Regions from separate parts of the Homo sapiens genome. Here region 1 is linked to region 2. The links are contacts of gene promoters, found by promoter capture Hi-C in blood cells and fetal thymus (Javierre and others, 2016). All regions are on one chromosome and are shown on one strand. Each heading gives the region's core, a stretch centred on a gene start or on the middle of the fragment in contact. The rest is flanking DNA. Distances are from core to core; before and after follow the strand shown. Region 1 holds the start of TRY-GTA7-1 (tRNA-Tyr (anticodon GTA) 7-1). Region 2 holds the start of METTL17 (methyltransferase like 17).

What was found. Contacts are between HindIII fragments. The CHiCAGO score rates a contact against its expected background, and 5 or more counts as called.
Region 1: a contact is called between a fragment that was not itself captured here and the fragment with the promoter of METTL17 in region 2, in 1 of 17 cell types (monocytes). The highest score is 5.3, in monocytes.

What each region holds. Positions count from the first base shown.
Region 1 is chr14:20,657,542-20,664,496 of GRCh38, reverse strand. It overlaps TRY-GTA7-1 (tRNA-Tyr (anticodon GTA) 7-1), which reads left to right and starts at 4,446; the gene lies at 4,446-4,539. It overlaps LOC124903281 (a long non-coding RNA gene), which reads right to left. Exons shown (of 2, transcript XR_007064059.1): 2 at 2,084-6,792. TRY-GTA4-1 (tRNA-Tyr (anticodon GTA) 4-1) reads left to right here and starts at 6,940; the gene lies at 6,940-6,955. TRY-GTA5-4 (tRNA-Tyr (anticodon GTA) 5-4) reads left to right here and starts at 1,212; the gene lies at 1,212-1,305. RefSeq lists silencers at 838-907, 2,856-3,075 and an enhancer at 1,018-1,297. The HindIII fragment of the contact is 1,387 bases long and covers 3,451-4,837 here.
Region 2 is chr14:20,983,716-20,991,437 of GRCh38, reverse strand. METTL17 (methyltransferase like 17) reads right to left here and starts at 1,458. Exons shown (of 14, transcript NM_022734.3): 1 at 1,361-1,458; 2 at 1,055-1,208; 3 at 840-974. The coding sequence starts at 1,435. RefSeq lists an enhancer at 882-931 and a silencer at 1,682-1,811. The HindIII fragment of the contact is 15,587 bases long and covers 1-7,722 here.

The DNA of each region.
Region 1 (6,955 bases), core at 2,895-5,394, 330 kb after region 2:
TGGCTCACGCCTGTAATCCCAGCACTTTGGGAGGCCGAGGAGGGTGGATCACCTAAGGTCGGGAGTTCAAGACCAGCCTGGCCAACATGGAGAAACCCCAAGTCTTTACTAAAAATGCAAAATTAGCCGGGCGTGGCGGCGCATACCTGTAATCCCAGCTACTCCGGAGGCTGAGGCGGCAGAATCGCTTGAACCTGGGAGGCGGAGGTGGCGGTGAGCTGAGATCGCGCCATTTCACTCCAGCCTGGGCAACGAGAGTGAAACTCCATCTCAAAAAAAAAAAAAAAAAAAGAAGAAGAAGAAGAAGAAGAAGAAGAAGTGCCTTTCACCTCCAGCCATGATTCTGAGGCCCCCTAGGCATGTGGAACTGTGAGTCCAATTAAACCTCTTTTTCATCCCAGTCTCGGGTATGTCTTTATCCGCAGCATGAAAACGGACTAATATACTTGCCCTACTTCAGAAAGAGGAAGCCTCTGGGGGAGAAAAAAAAAAGAGTTCTTGGTCAGTTTGCAGAGGAGGGAAGCCAAGCCCCAGTTGGGCGCTGGGGAGGAAGGAGGGTATCACAGTGCATCTGCAAGCCCTGGGCGAGTTCTTCTCACCTAGTCCCATTTGTTCTCTCTCTCACTTCTAGCACACTTGAATGCGCCAAAAAGCAAGCATAGGACACTGTAGGGAAAAGGGCGGAGGCACATCGGGAGAAGGGGCATGTGTGTGTTGGCCGGGAAGGGAGTAGGAAGGCCAGAGTTTTAGGAAAGGGCTGCTTAAGGACTTTCAGCAGACCCTGCAGCTGGTCTGCGGATAGCGGCCGCCCACCCAGAAGCTTTCCGAGTTCTTCTTTCCTCCTCCTGCAACCCCTGTCCCACAGGATCCACCCATCCACCTAGCCCATCCCTCTGACCGAGCCCTCTCACCCTCTTGTTTTCTTTCGCTGAGGGCTGTCATCCTCACTTGTAAAAACAGAGATGCACAGGTGGAGGAAGGCCACAGGCGAGAGCCTCCCGTCCTGGATTGTGGCTATCAGCGCTCTGGGACGCGAGGAAACCACACTCGGAGGATTTGCTCCACCCTGAGAGGTGCGCGGTGGCAACCAGCGCAAGGTTCTCTTCTAAGGCGGGTTCCAATCAACTCTAAGTGTGTTGACTCCAGCGTTCCAAGGACTTGGCTTCCTCCATTTGCGGAAAGTCCAGTGATCCAGCTCTTGCAGCGTGCACCCTTCGATAGCTCAGCTGGTAGAGCGGAGGACTGTAGATTGTACAGACATTTGCGGACATCCTTAGGTCGCTGGTTCGATTCCGGCTCGAAGGAAGTGCCCGATGCTTTTGCATGCAATGCCACCTGGTGCCTGGTCAAACGCCCTGCAGCCTCCAACTAGTATCCACCCACACCCTCCCAGTCAAAACCCAGAGAAACCTTTCCTGATCACCTGGTTTCCACACCTGTGCTGTGGCCAGGAAACACGCCCGTAAGCCCACTCATTCTTCCCACAGTCCAGGGACAGGTACTCTTCAACGCAAAGGGCCCCTTGCTTCTGCTTTGTGACCCAGTCAGCCCCTCTCCCCAACCCCCTTCGCACCCCCACCATCCAGAGCTCTTTCACTTTTATCCACAGACTGCTCTGGGTGCTGAGGGCCATGGACTCTAGCAACATTGTGTGCTCACCATTGATAGATCTCTCGATCTATTAAACCAGTGGGCCCACCATCAACTCCTAGAAGATCAAGCCTGCTGGAAGAGAAAAGGGTCAGAGACAACTGTGACATCCTCAGGAAAAAAAAAAAATGCTCTCTATGCTGTCTCTCTCTCATCTCCTTCTCCAGGTCTCTAGCAAATGCTTTTCTATCTGAGCATTCTCTCTCTCTCTCTCTGTTTTTCTCTGACTCTAGTTCTCTCATTATCTTTTGCTTGTAATGTATAGATGTATACAGACAGAAAATGTTCATTTCTGTTTTGTTTTGTCTATTTGTGGGAGAGAGTTGCCGCCCTGAGATTTTCTTAATAAATAGGGCTTCCACTGGCTCCATAATATTTTCCTTCAGGTTGAGAACAAAAATGTGCCCCCTTCCCACATACACCAAGCCTCACATTTCCCGAGCCTTCGCACCTTTTAATGTTGCTACAGTAAACTTTGGGCTCCTGCTGGAAGAAGAAAGATACCTTCCACTCAGTTCAAAGTCTGCAAAAACACCTATACCAAGTGTCTTACTGGTTGTGAAGGTGTGAGAGAGGGAAAGAGAGTATAAAAGGGCAGACTTGGAAAGAACTTCAGTGACCCGGGAGGGTTGGGGGCTGTTGGGTCCCTGGCAGGGAGCAGAATTGAAGCTTGGGTGGCAGCTGCCACCTTGCAGAGGTACACAAGTTCACCTCCTTAGGCCACTGGCTTGTTGCATCTGAGCAGCATGCTCACTTTTATGTGGGGGCTCTGCAGGCACAGCTGGAAGGTTGCGCCTTCTACAAGAGGAAGATGGCTGGCACAATCTGAGAGCATGAAGCAGGAAATGGGCTTGGCTTTCACCAACTGGGCTTCACCTCTGGGAAGATGAAGTGGGTTCATCAAAGTATGAGCCAGAGAGGAACCACAATGAGTGTCCCCTGGTCCCATCCTATGCTCTGGGGAAAAAAAAAAAAATCTTCAGACGCTTGATATACAGATGAAAATTATCACAGAGAGCACTGCAAGCAAAACAGTGATGGAAATTTGGTTCTCAGAGGCCTTCTGGGAACCCGGTGACCACTCTCCCCTACCCGATGGGCATAACTGCTTTTTCACTCTGCGTCTCAAACTAGAGAGTACACATGTCTTCCCCTCCTAGAAAGCAGATCCTGTTCTCCCCCTACGGCCTATTCCCTACCTCTTCTCTGTTGTATCAGCCTTTCCTGCTTCCCACTGCTGATGGAAAGGGGCAGAGCTGTGGACTCACCAGTGCCCCAGCAACATTCTGTAGCTCTGCAGCCCCAGAGAGATCCCAGCCTCGAATGACATTGCTGCAGAGATCAGCAAACAGAAACCAAAGTAGAACCTTTGGTCTATACTGGATATGTCCTTGATAAGATGTGGCGGTACCAGGTTTTTTGGAACCTAGGCTTGGTGCTTTGAGGGAAAAAACAGAGGTGGGCCATTGAGTGGTGTTTGGTCATCAGCAAAAGTGTGGGTGATCCCTGACCATGACTTTTCCCCTATAAACTCAATAAAGGGTGGGTCTTTTGGGTTCAGCTTGCTGTGCCACCAGTAACTGTCTCACTGTTTGTGTGGGTGATGAGTGGTCTTGGGATAGTGGACACACACCATATGGGATATGAACCCTTTGTAACAATTTGTGGCCTAGGTAAGGGGTCCAAAGCTCACCTGGTTTCCTCTATCAGCCCCCTTTTCTTTCCAGGGGCCCCTACTTTAGAAAGCAGCAGCCTCTGGGAAAGGATTCTTGGTCAGTAGCAGAGGACTGGATCGAAGCTTTTATGCTGGCCTTTGGGGTTAGAGGTAATGGGTATCACATGGTGATCTGCGAGCCCCTGGCCCTACTCTCTCCCCACATATCTTTTTTTTTTTTTTTTTAAATTGTCTCTGTCGCCCAGGCTGGAGTGCAGTGGCAAGATCACAGCTTACTGTAGCCTCGAACACCCGGGCTCAGATGATCCTCCCACCTCAGCCTGCTGAGTGGCCAGGACCACAGGTGCAGGCCACCACACCCGGATACTTTTTAGAAGTTTTTCTGTAGAGATGGCTTCTCCCTATGTTGCCCAGGCTGATCTCGAACTCCTGCGCTCAAGCGCCCCTTTCGCCTCGGCCCGCTAAATTGTTGGAATTGCGGTGCGAGCCACCATACCTGGCCTCCACCTATCCTCCTGCATTTCCTCCCTCTCTTCCCATTATGCCTCAATACTCCAAAAAGTGAGCATAGGACACTGGGTAGAAGGGCCGCGCACATCGAGAGGAGTGTGTTTGAGGTGGTGGGAAGTAGAGGACAGGCTGTTAGGGCAGTGCCCCCTTATGGTCTTCCATCAGACCCTGACGCTAGGCTGGGGTTGGAAGCTGCTTACACCACGCCCATGCTGGTTCTCCTCTTTTCCTCCTCCAGTGTCCTCTCCTCCACTGGACCCACCCATCAGTCTCACCAAGCCCTCTGCCCTCGCCGTCTTACCTCATTTTCCCTCTGGCCACTAAGGGCTGTCATCTTCACAAGCAGAAAGAGCGATGCAGAGGGAGAGGAAGGCCACAGGTGAGAGCTCCTCCTCGTGGATCGTGGCTATCGGCGCCCCAGAGACGCCAGGCACCCCCCCGGGCCCAGAGGATTTGCTCTGTCCGGAAAGGGGCGCAGTGGAGACCGGCGCAGAGTTCTCTTCCAAGTCGGGTTCCAATTAACTCAACGAGTATTGGATCTCCGGTGGTCCAGGGACTTGGCTTCCTCCATTTGCAGAAAGTCCAGTGACCCAGCCTTAACAGTGTGCATCCTTCGATAGCTCAGCTGGTAGAGCGGAGGACTGTAGACTGCGGAAACGTTTGTGGACATCCTTAGGTCGCTGGTTCAATTCCGGCTCGAAGGAAGCGCCTGACTCTTTTGCGCACAATGCTGCCTGGCTGCACCTGTTCCTCGTCAAAGACCTTGCAGCCTTCCAGTCATAACTACACTTTCCCCAGGAAAACCCAGCAAAATCCTGCCTTTCCTGATCACAGGCCTGGGAGCCTATTCATTCTTCCCGAATCCTCATAGTCTTCAGCTCAAAACAGTGCCCCTTGCCTTGTGACCCAGCCAGACCCCAATTCGTGCCCCCACCATCCTACGCCTTTCCACTTGTATTTACAAACTGCCCACCCATCCCCCTGTCCCAGACCCGTCAAGCTTCATCTTTCCTGAGCTTTCACAAGTTTTTATGTTGCTACAGCCAAGTTTGGCTACTGCTGGAAAAGTAAGGATATCTAATACTCAGTTCAAAGTCTGCAAAAACACCTGCACCAAGTGCCCTGCCTACTTGGGAGGGTAAGGGAAAGGGAAAGCGAGTACCAAAGAAGTGCAGACTTCAAAACAGCTTCAGTGATCCTGGAGAGTTAGGGGCTATTGGGTCCATGGCAGGGAGCAGACGTAAAGCTTGAGTGACAGCTGCCTTTATACAGAGGCACGTGGATTTGCCTCCTTAGACAGGCCACTGCCTCGTGGGTCTAAGCAGTTCGGAGCGTTTGCTCTGGGACCTAGAGGCACAGTTGGGTTCTCCTACTCCCAAGAAAAATGTGCTGAGGCCCAGTCAGAGAGAATGGAGTCAGAAATGGACTGGGCTTTATCAATCAAGTGAAGCTTCAACTCTGGGGAGTTGGAGTGGGTTTGGTGGATATGTGGCAGAGAAGAAAGCCAATGAGCATCCTTTGGTCTCATCACATAATCTTGGAAAAAGCTTCCCGATGTTTGATGTAAAGATGCAACCTATCAGAGAGTACTCCAAACTGAATGGCCCAGGAAAGCATGGCCTTCTGAAGCCTGCTTAGGACTGGCTTGCCCCATCTACTACCTGCTGGGTCCACATGAACTGTTTAATTGTGCCTCTCAAACTGGATACTGCACATATTACTGCACATATCTTTTTCACATGGAAAGCAGCTCCTGGTATCCCGCCACCGCCTATTCTCCCCCACGTCACCCCGACTGTGTCAACCTTTCTTCTTTGGTGTCACCAGTGCTCTGGGATGCTTCTATGGCTCTGGAGGCACAGAGAGACCCCAGCTCCAATGACACCAAAGGCAAAGACCAGCTAACAAAGAGGGACCAAAGGTAGCACCTCAGGCCTTCATTGGATATATTCCTGATGGGGCGTGGAGTCACCAGAGCCCTTGGAACCTTTGCTCAGTGCTTTGGGGAAAAACCAGAGGTGAGCCAACAAATGGGTTTGGTGGCTGGCACAAGTGAAGGTGAGCCCAGGTGCCCACTCTTCCCAGCTGTGCCATGGCAGAGAGTAGCAGGATGTCTGTGAGGATCTGATCCTCACTCTCGGAGATCCACACCCACTTGCCATAAGACAGGAAGTGGACATAAACTCAATGGAGGCTAGGTCCCGTGGGTGTGGCTTCCTGTCCTCCTCTAGGTGTTCTGCTGCAGAGAGGGTGCCTCAGTGGTCTCGGAGTGGTGGGCACACACCAGATGGGATCTGAAACTTTTGTCAAAGATGTGGGTTCAGGATAAGGAGTCCAAAGCTCACACTTCTGTCCTCTACCTGGCTTCTTGTTTTTCAAAGAAACCCACAGAACTTTGCCCTACTTCAGAAATCAGCAGCTTCTGATTGGAATTCTCAGCCTGTTTGCAGAAGAGGGTATCTCACATGTGCCTCTGCAAGCCTGGGAGAGATTTCCTCACCTCACTTCCCAGTGCACCTCAATGCACCAAAATGTGAGCATAGACTACTATGAGGAGAAGGGCGGGGCACCTGGGGAGGAGGGCCCTGTGTGTGTGGTAGGGGAGGGAGTAGAGAGGCCAGACTATTATGGAAGCGCCCATTAGAGACCTGCACCAGACTCTGAGGTTGGGTTGGAGTTGTCAGCTGCCTATCCAGCGCCCATTAGGGTTCTCCTCTTTTCCTCCTCCAGCGTTCTCTCCCCGACTAGACCCACCCAACCACCTCGCCAATCCCTGTGCCCTCGCTGACTCACCTTCTCATTTTCTCTCAGGCCACTGGGGGCTGTCATCCTCACCTGTAGAAAGGTGGATGCTCAGGGAGAGGAAGGCTGTCACAGATGAGAGCTCCTCCTCGTGGATGGTGGCTATCAGAGCCCGAGAGACACCAGGCATCCTCGCCCAGAGGATTTGCTCCGCCCTGAAAGGGGTGTGGTGTCAAGCGGCGCAGGGTTCTCTTCCAAGGTGGGTGCCAACCAACCCAACGCGTATTGGACCTCAAGCATTCCAGGGATGTGGCTCCCTCTGTTTGCAGAAAGTCCAATGAACCAGCTTTGATAGCATGCATCCTTCGATAGCTCAGC
Region 2 (7,722 bases), core at 209-2,708:
AGAAATCTGAAAATCTACGTCTCATGACTGTTCAGTTCAGTACTATTTAGCAAGTATCTACTGAACTACTGTGAGCCAGGTACTGTGAGGTGTGCAGGGAATGCAAGATGAATAAATGGTAGTGTCAAGGAGCTCACAATCATGAAACTAACTTGATGAATTATATTTACCCTCTTATCCCAGAAGAGGGTTTCAGTACTGGGCAGGGACCATCCAGGGACTTTATTTTACCTGAATAAAAACTTAGAAGGTCCTAATCCAGTGGACTTGCAGAAAAAAATAAATATCTAGATTTTAACAGTATATTGGTAGCCAGGCGCGGTGGTTCATGCCTGTAATCCTAGCACTTTGGGAGGCCAAGGTGGGCGGATCACCTGAGGTCAGAAGTTCGAGACTAGCCTGGCCACCATGATGAAACCCCGTCTCTACTAAAAATACAAGTAGCCGGGTGTGGTGGTGCACGCCTGTAATCCCAGCTACTGAAGAGGCTGAGGCAGGAAAATCACTTAAACCCGGGAGGCGGAGGTTGCAGTGAGCCGAGATCGAGCATTACACTTCAGCCTGGGTGACAGAGCAAGACTCTGTCTCAAAGCAAAAACAAAACAACAAAACAAACAAACAAACAAAAAACAGTATACTGGGACATTCTGACCTTTACCTAAGCAATCTCTAAAATAATCTACCTTCTTTTAGTAAGGCATCATTGTAACAACTGCTGCTCTGGTTAGAAAGTCAAATAAGAGACTTCAGTATCTGAGAGATTGTAGAATTATTTCTTACTCTTCATTTCTAACCGATATTTCAATCTCGCCCACTTTTTAATTATTCTTAAGTCCTACCTGGGTTTTCCAGGAATTTTTTCTCAAGATGCCTAGCCCGTCTTTGCAACTCCTCTGGCTCTACAGGCAAATGTCTGCTCCAGAGATAACTGGTCAGTGTTTGCACCTGATTCTCCATAGTGGGCCCAGCGCTCCCTATGGGCCAAAGACGAAAAGCGGAATCACTTGCATGTAGGTCCAGTCCCGTTTCTTCTCGCTTTCCCGCCGTTACTCACCAAGTAGCAATAACTGGGCACCGTTAGCCAGTGCCTGTGGCAGCCGCACGTGCGGCAGCTTTAGGATGCCAGGGTGCTGGCGATGAGGCCTCTTCTGCAGGAAACCGGACTTGTTATCTACCTGGGTCACTCCGGGTACTAAGGCGGCGAGCGCCTGCAGGCAGAGAAAGGTAGGTTGATTTCCTGGCAGAAAGGAAAGTTGCTGGCAATCGCTAGGGCGGGGGCTGCCAGGAGCGCTCCTCCTCTGCGCGGAGATGTCTCTGCAGATCCAGAGTCTCTCCGACAGCAGGGAATGTAGGCACTCACCCGGGCCTGGGGAGCCACTCCAAGGCCGGGGCACCATCTTCCTAATGTCAGTAGACACTTCAGTGCCGCCGCCATGGCTCCGGAGGCGAACCGGAAACGGAAATACAGGTGCCTGTGACCCTCAGTCCCAACGCCGCAAGGAGCAGCCTTCGCAGAACTTCTCCCGACAGTTTCAGCCAACGAGAAGAGCGAGTGTTTGCCAGCAGCCAATAAGCAATGGTTATATAAATAATCCTTGAGGCAGAAACCGTGTTTGGGCCGACTTGAAGGCTGCGTTGGGCCTGGTCACCGGCCCCAGAAATCAAGAGGGTGGGGTGGGGCGGGGCGGGACGGGACGGGGGCGGGATGGGGTTGGGTGTGAGCGCGCCAGCAAAGACTGTTTCTGGGAGTACTGACTTCCTGTGTTCTTTGCATTCCTCCGCGGAGAACTCTGAGTCTTGGGTTGTTTCCCTGTGTGAAAAAGGGAGACTGCAGTAACGGAAAGAAGAGAAAAATCAGATTTAAGCGACTGAAGAAAACAGAAATTAATAGTTAAATGATTATTGAATAGTTAATAGTTTGATAAATATTAAACCTAGTTAATAGGTTTATTTATTTTTTTACATTTGTTAATTTCTCTTCAAATGAGACCAGTCTTCTTAGTAAGCTAACATAACACTTACTGAGAACACCTATGTGCTAGGTACTTCAGGGAAAAGGACTGATCCCCACTTCACAGAAAACATGGTTCTGACGGGGACCCTCCTGTGTCTGCTGCTACGTCAGAGTGTTTCCCCCAGGCCCAGGACTTAGACAGTAGCCGTCTGATTACCTGAGGTGCAGAATCTCAGGTGGGTCCAGCCACTATTGTGACGTGATAATATAGCATAGGGGAATGGTCTCCAGAGTCTGCAAGCTCATCAACACCTTCATTCACTAGAGCATCAGAAGGATAAATGGCATATGCAAGGCGATATCTACTTTCGGGACCTGACAGTGGACAACTGCTACCTCAGTCTCCGAACACTTGAGCTCACCCAGTGTGTGATTTCTGTGGGCTCCTGGCCCCCTAATTTCCGTTACAGGTTTAGGATGTTCTCCCAGCACATCCACTTGACCTGTGTGTGGAACCAGCCAGTTCATCTGGAGGGCTAGACTCCTGAGTCATCAGGCTAGGGCCTGATGATCTCAGGCCCCAGCGCCCTAATTGGACTTTCCTTCTGTGGTTCTCTACCTTATTCGACTTCTTCCCCAAATCTGCAGACCTCACCGACTGCAGCCTGCCAGCTCTCTCAGGGCTCCTCATCTCGGGGTGAGGTGGGGTGAGGAGACATGGGTGGACAGGGGGAGAAGGGCCGCTCTGCCTCTTCCAGGCGGAACCGCCCTTCCTGTAGATGAATGCATGGCCCACTGACACATCCTAGGCTGACACTTGCCTCTTTTCCAGCTTTTCCTCAGTCCTCCTTTTACCTGGGAATCTTTCCTGGGTGCTCAAAAGGGTCACCACAGTGACCTCTACCCCTCCAGTGAGAATGCTCACGTTCAGAGTCGTGATTCTGTGTGTGCCCTGGGCTGAGGACTCTGCCCTAGAGATATCTGAGGAATGGAACCATTAAATTAAATTGATACCTGTTGATATCTCTCCAGACTATTAAGTCCACAACCCAGGCCGTCTCAAAGGTTCTTACTCCTGAAGCCATCCCTCATTTTTTGTGCGAGTCTTGCCCAAATGCCAGGGTGCTGGCGATGGGGCCTATTCTTGCCCAAATGCACAGATAATTCTGAAGATTGGGCCATACTAGATGTGTGTGTTGGAAGATCTGCCAAGATTCTACTGTCAGCTAGTCAGAGCTCTTGAGTAAATCCCTCAGCATCTTGTCCTTATAATTCTATTCATATAGCTGAGATCATGTCACGGCTCCAAAAGCCACCATCCAAATTATGGGCATTTTCTGTCCATAAAACTTTGTGAAATGATTCCTTGTAGGAAATTTATCCAAGGGAATCACCAGATCTCAAGTACCTTCATAGTAGTTCAACTCCAACGCATAAGCCACCGCGCCTATGTAGGGGCTCCACACAATGTTTGCACTCCACACAATGTTTGCGCTCCAGGATAAGAGAAGGAGAGAAGGGAGAAAGGGATGCAACTTTCACCTCAATGGGAGTGAATGAATGGCCTCTTCAAACATGACCTGTCTGGGATTCTGAGTCATTCTAGTTCCCCTGCAACAGTAGGAGCCATCTTGACTTTATCTCTGAATCTCAGTGTCTGTCTTATTCTGTGCTTGGGTTTTAGTAGGTTACCAGTGTTTGCAGAAGTGACCCTGCCTGATTTGCGGTGGACTGTGAAGCTAAGTGTCTACTCTTTTCCCTCCGTAGGCCACTGGGAGGACAGATGATGCTCAAGTTTCCCTTTTTCCTCTTGGTCTTATGTCACTTACTGCTTTCTTTTCTTTTTTTTCTAGCCTATTGTTTTCTTTTTAAGACAGGTGACATTCTGTCACCCAGGTTGGAGTGCAGTGGTGAGAACATGGCTCACTGCAGCCACACATCCTAGGTTCAAGCGATTCTCCTACGTCAGCCTCCTGAATAGCTGGGACGACAGGTGTATGCTACTGTGCCTGGCTAATTTTTTATTTTTTTCGAGAGATGGGGTCTTTCCACGTTGCCCAGGCTGGTCTTGACCTCCTGAGCTCAAGCGATCCTCTGGCCTTGGCCTCCCAAAGTGTTGGGATTACAGGCGTAAGCCACCGCGCCTGCCTTATTCTATTGTTTCCTTTCTCTCCCACCCTCCCACTTCTTTTCTTCCTCCCTTCTTTTATTCCTTTTTTTTCACAGCACAAGATATCTTCTAATGTAAATATTTGATTCTTTATGATAAATTAAAAAAAGACTGGGGTGCAAATCAGAATCAATCACATTTTTTTCTTACTCCTTGGGGGCTCATTTGACTCTTGAGTGGGAAAGAGGCAGATCCCAGGTGAAGCCTCAGTCTCTTGGCCTAAGGCAGGGAGAAGCATGAGTCAGATCAACATGATGATTCATCTGAGTCTCAACCATGAAGAAATTCACGGATTGTACAGGGTTTTCTGGTGCAGTCAGCTTTCTTGTGTTGTGACTTGGCTGATTAACTCATATTCAAGGCCAGAACTACTGTTGCTGTTGAGACTAATCCAATTACAAAGTATTCTGCTGCGGGGGAGGGATCTTCCAATTGGATCTGATCTCCTTTGGCAAAAATCTATGTTGAGGAAAGCAAGGAGGTTCTGGAGGGATTATAGATTTTGAAAACTCTGGCTCGGGCAGACCCAGCATGGCTTCCTACAGATATAGGATGGGGGATCACCACAGAGCAGTGTTAGTCTTGGCATGGGATGGCATGAAAGGATCGCTGATATCCTCAGAAGATGAATGGTGGTCACACAGGAGCTTCTTTGGAGGTGCATTGTGGACTCTTAACACATGGATAAAGTCTTAGAGGAAAATCCAAGGATTGGACACCCATTGGGGGTCTCGTATATCTCTCCTGAGGGACTGAGACCCTGAAATAGGGACCGGAATGGCCAGGGCAGTGAGAGAATGTAGAAGTCTTTCTATTCTCAGTTCATGTTTCTCAAGAAAATCTAAAAGTTATCCCATTAAAATGTTCTGGGTTGGGGGCCTCCATTGTTTAACAACTAGGTCAATGGTTTCCAGTTCAGACTCGGGAGAGGAATCCCAAGAAGGAAACTCTGGCTTATCATCTACTTCTCCAAGCCTTCTAGAAATACCATTTCTAATGTACTGTCCTGCAACAGGGACCAATTCAAGACAGAACTTTCCAGAAGGATCTGTTTGTGTTTTTGAGAACTACTGGGAATGGCCAGCACAGCCACCTGGCCTAGGAGACTTGCTATTATACAGAAAATGAAGAAAAAATGTGAGAAGAAAGGGATGAAGAAAGAGAAGATAAAGAGGAAAGAAAGATATATAATGGGGAAAGACATTTATCCATGATAGGGAGTTTATTTTTCGTTCTTGAGTTGGTGGAATTCTTTACTGACCATGTTAGATGTGCCACACTCTGTGTTAAGGGCTAAAGCTAGGAGAGGAGGAGACTGTGTTATGGGAAGTGGTATTTTTTTTCTTGTTCAAATCTTGTTCCAAATTTCTACTTTGAATTTGGTGGAGCTGTTTTTGTTCAAGCTCTGATAGTACTGTGGGCATCAGACATCTATGAAATCTTCTACAAGCCAGTTCAGCTTCCTCTCCCTCCTCCTCCTCCTCCTCTTTCTTCTTCCTCTTCCTCTTCTTCTTCTTTTTTTTTTAAGACAGAGTTTCACTCTTGTTGCCCAGGCTGTAGTGCAATGGCATGATCTCGGCTCACTGCAACCTCTGCCTTCTGGGTTCAAGCGATTCTCCTGCCTCAGCCTCCTGAATAGCTGGGTTTACAGGCGTGCGCCACTATACCCAGCTAATTTTTTTTTTGTATTTTTAGTAGAGATGGGATTTTTCTATGTTGGCCAGGCTGGTCTCAAACTCCTGACCTCAGGCGATCCACCTGCCTCGGCCTCTTAAAGTGCTAGGATTACAGGTGTGAGCCACCATGCCTGGCCTCTTTCTTCTTTTTAATCCTACTCCAGCACTCCAAAGAGCCATGTTGTATAAAGGGGAGCCTAAAACCCAAAACAAGTAGAGCAAGGGAGGGCCATTCCAAGGAGGAACCCAGCTTCTTTTTTGTTTTTAGCAACACCCCTGTTTCTCTCTTCATACAAACATTCTCCATCTCATCACACCTCTATGCTGGAAACTTGAGTCTTTGGATTTCTTGCTGTTCAAAATTCTGCAGTGAATTAAAGCAGTCTGTTCAGTTCCTCCTGAAGTGATTCCACTGCTCCATATGCATTGGATTTATCTTCTCTAGATTTTAGTCTTGACCTGATTAATGCCTCCATTCCATGTCAACTAACATAAACCTAAAAAAAAAAAAACACAGATCTTTATGTAAAATCTGTAAAAGAATGAATATCTACTTTGCCCTCCTTCCACAGGGAACCCGGCCCATGTAGGCCCTGGGGCCACAGAATGCGGGCAACTGCTGTTCAAGGACCAGCATGAGGGGGCCAGGGCCAGGGTGCTGCTTTTGGGAATGCTGTACACTTCAGCCATTGTGGCTTTTGTGTTGTATAAGTGTTGCAGATGCAGAGATGGCTGGGGGTCTGGGTGCCCTGAGTCTGCATCTCTCATGGGGGCACCATAGTACTGAGAGCAAGATACAGTTTCCGCTGTCTGTAAAATGAAGATAATAGTTGATTGGCCTCCAACATTATAGAGTAATTTTAAGGATTCAGCGAGGTAAGGCTGAATGTGGAAGGCACGTGGTAAACTGTAAATGAATAATGACCATCACATTTAATTTTCCTACAATCTGATAAAGAGTAGCCACTTGCTTGAGGTCACCCAGAGCAGCAACTGGTGGAGCTGGACACTCAGCTAGTGTTCATACTACTAAAGTGGGGCCAACTGTGGCACAAGGGGTTGATTGCTGCAACCATAGTGTTTCTAGAGTTCAAGACATCAAGTGGTCTCATGTTCTCCTAGGGAGAGAGGCCCTTAAATATGAGTTGATGGTACATTTTGGAAAGTAAACTTTCTAGGACAGTATCTTCAGCCCTGACCCTATTGTTTATTTGCATTAGAAAATAAAACCGATTGAACCAATTTTGATGTATGAAACTAGAAGAGATAGCTAATAATGATCCCAGGTAGACATGACAGGCTAGGATGAGTGACTGGATTTAATAATGAAATTTAACAAGGATAGTTTAGTAAATTCTATCCTTCGGCGTGAGTACAGTCTGGAAGAAGATATTTCTTAGCAGCAGCACTTATGAGAGAGACTTAGGCCTACCCGTTGACTAATAAGTTTATGGTGTGATGTGACAACCAACAACCTACTTCCCAAATCAATGGTAGGAACAAGGTGTTGTGCTTTATCTACTGACCAGAACATTCCTGGAGAATTTTTGTCTCCCAGAACTGCCTTAAGAGCGCTATATGTTCAGTAAAGCAACCAGAGAAAACTATGCAAAATGAGCCCTGACTGAAAAGATCAAAGATATTAAACCAGAAAAAACTCAGGAAAGGGAGCAAGGGTATGCCCATTGTCTTCAAATTCCTGAGGAACTATCACGTTGAAGAGCCATTATTTTGGAAGGCTCTAATCAGGGCTATGGAAAGAAGATACATGAAGGACAAATTCTGGCTTTGTATATGAACTGTCTAACAACCAGAGCTCAATCAAACGCGAGAGAGCTGCTCATTCCTGGAGGTGTTTCAGCAGACCGAATGACCATGTGTGGGACACGATGACATGTTGCTTCATGTGCTGGGTGAGGAAC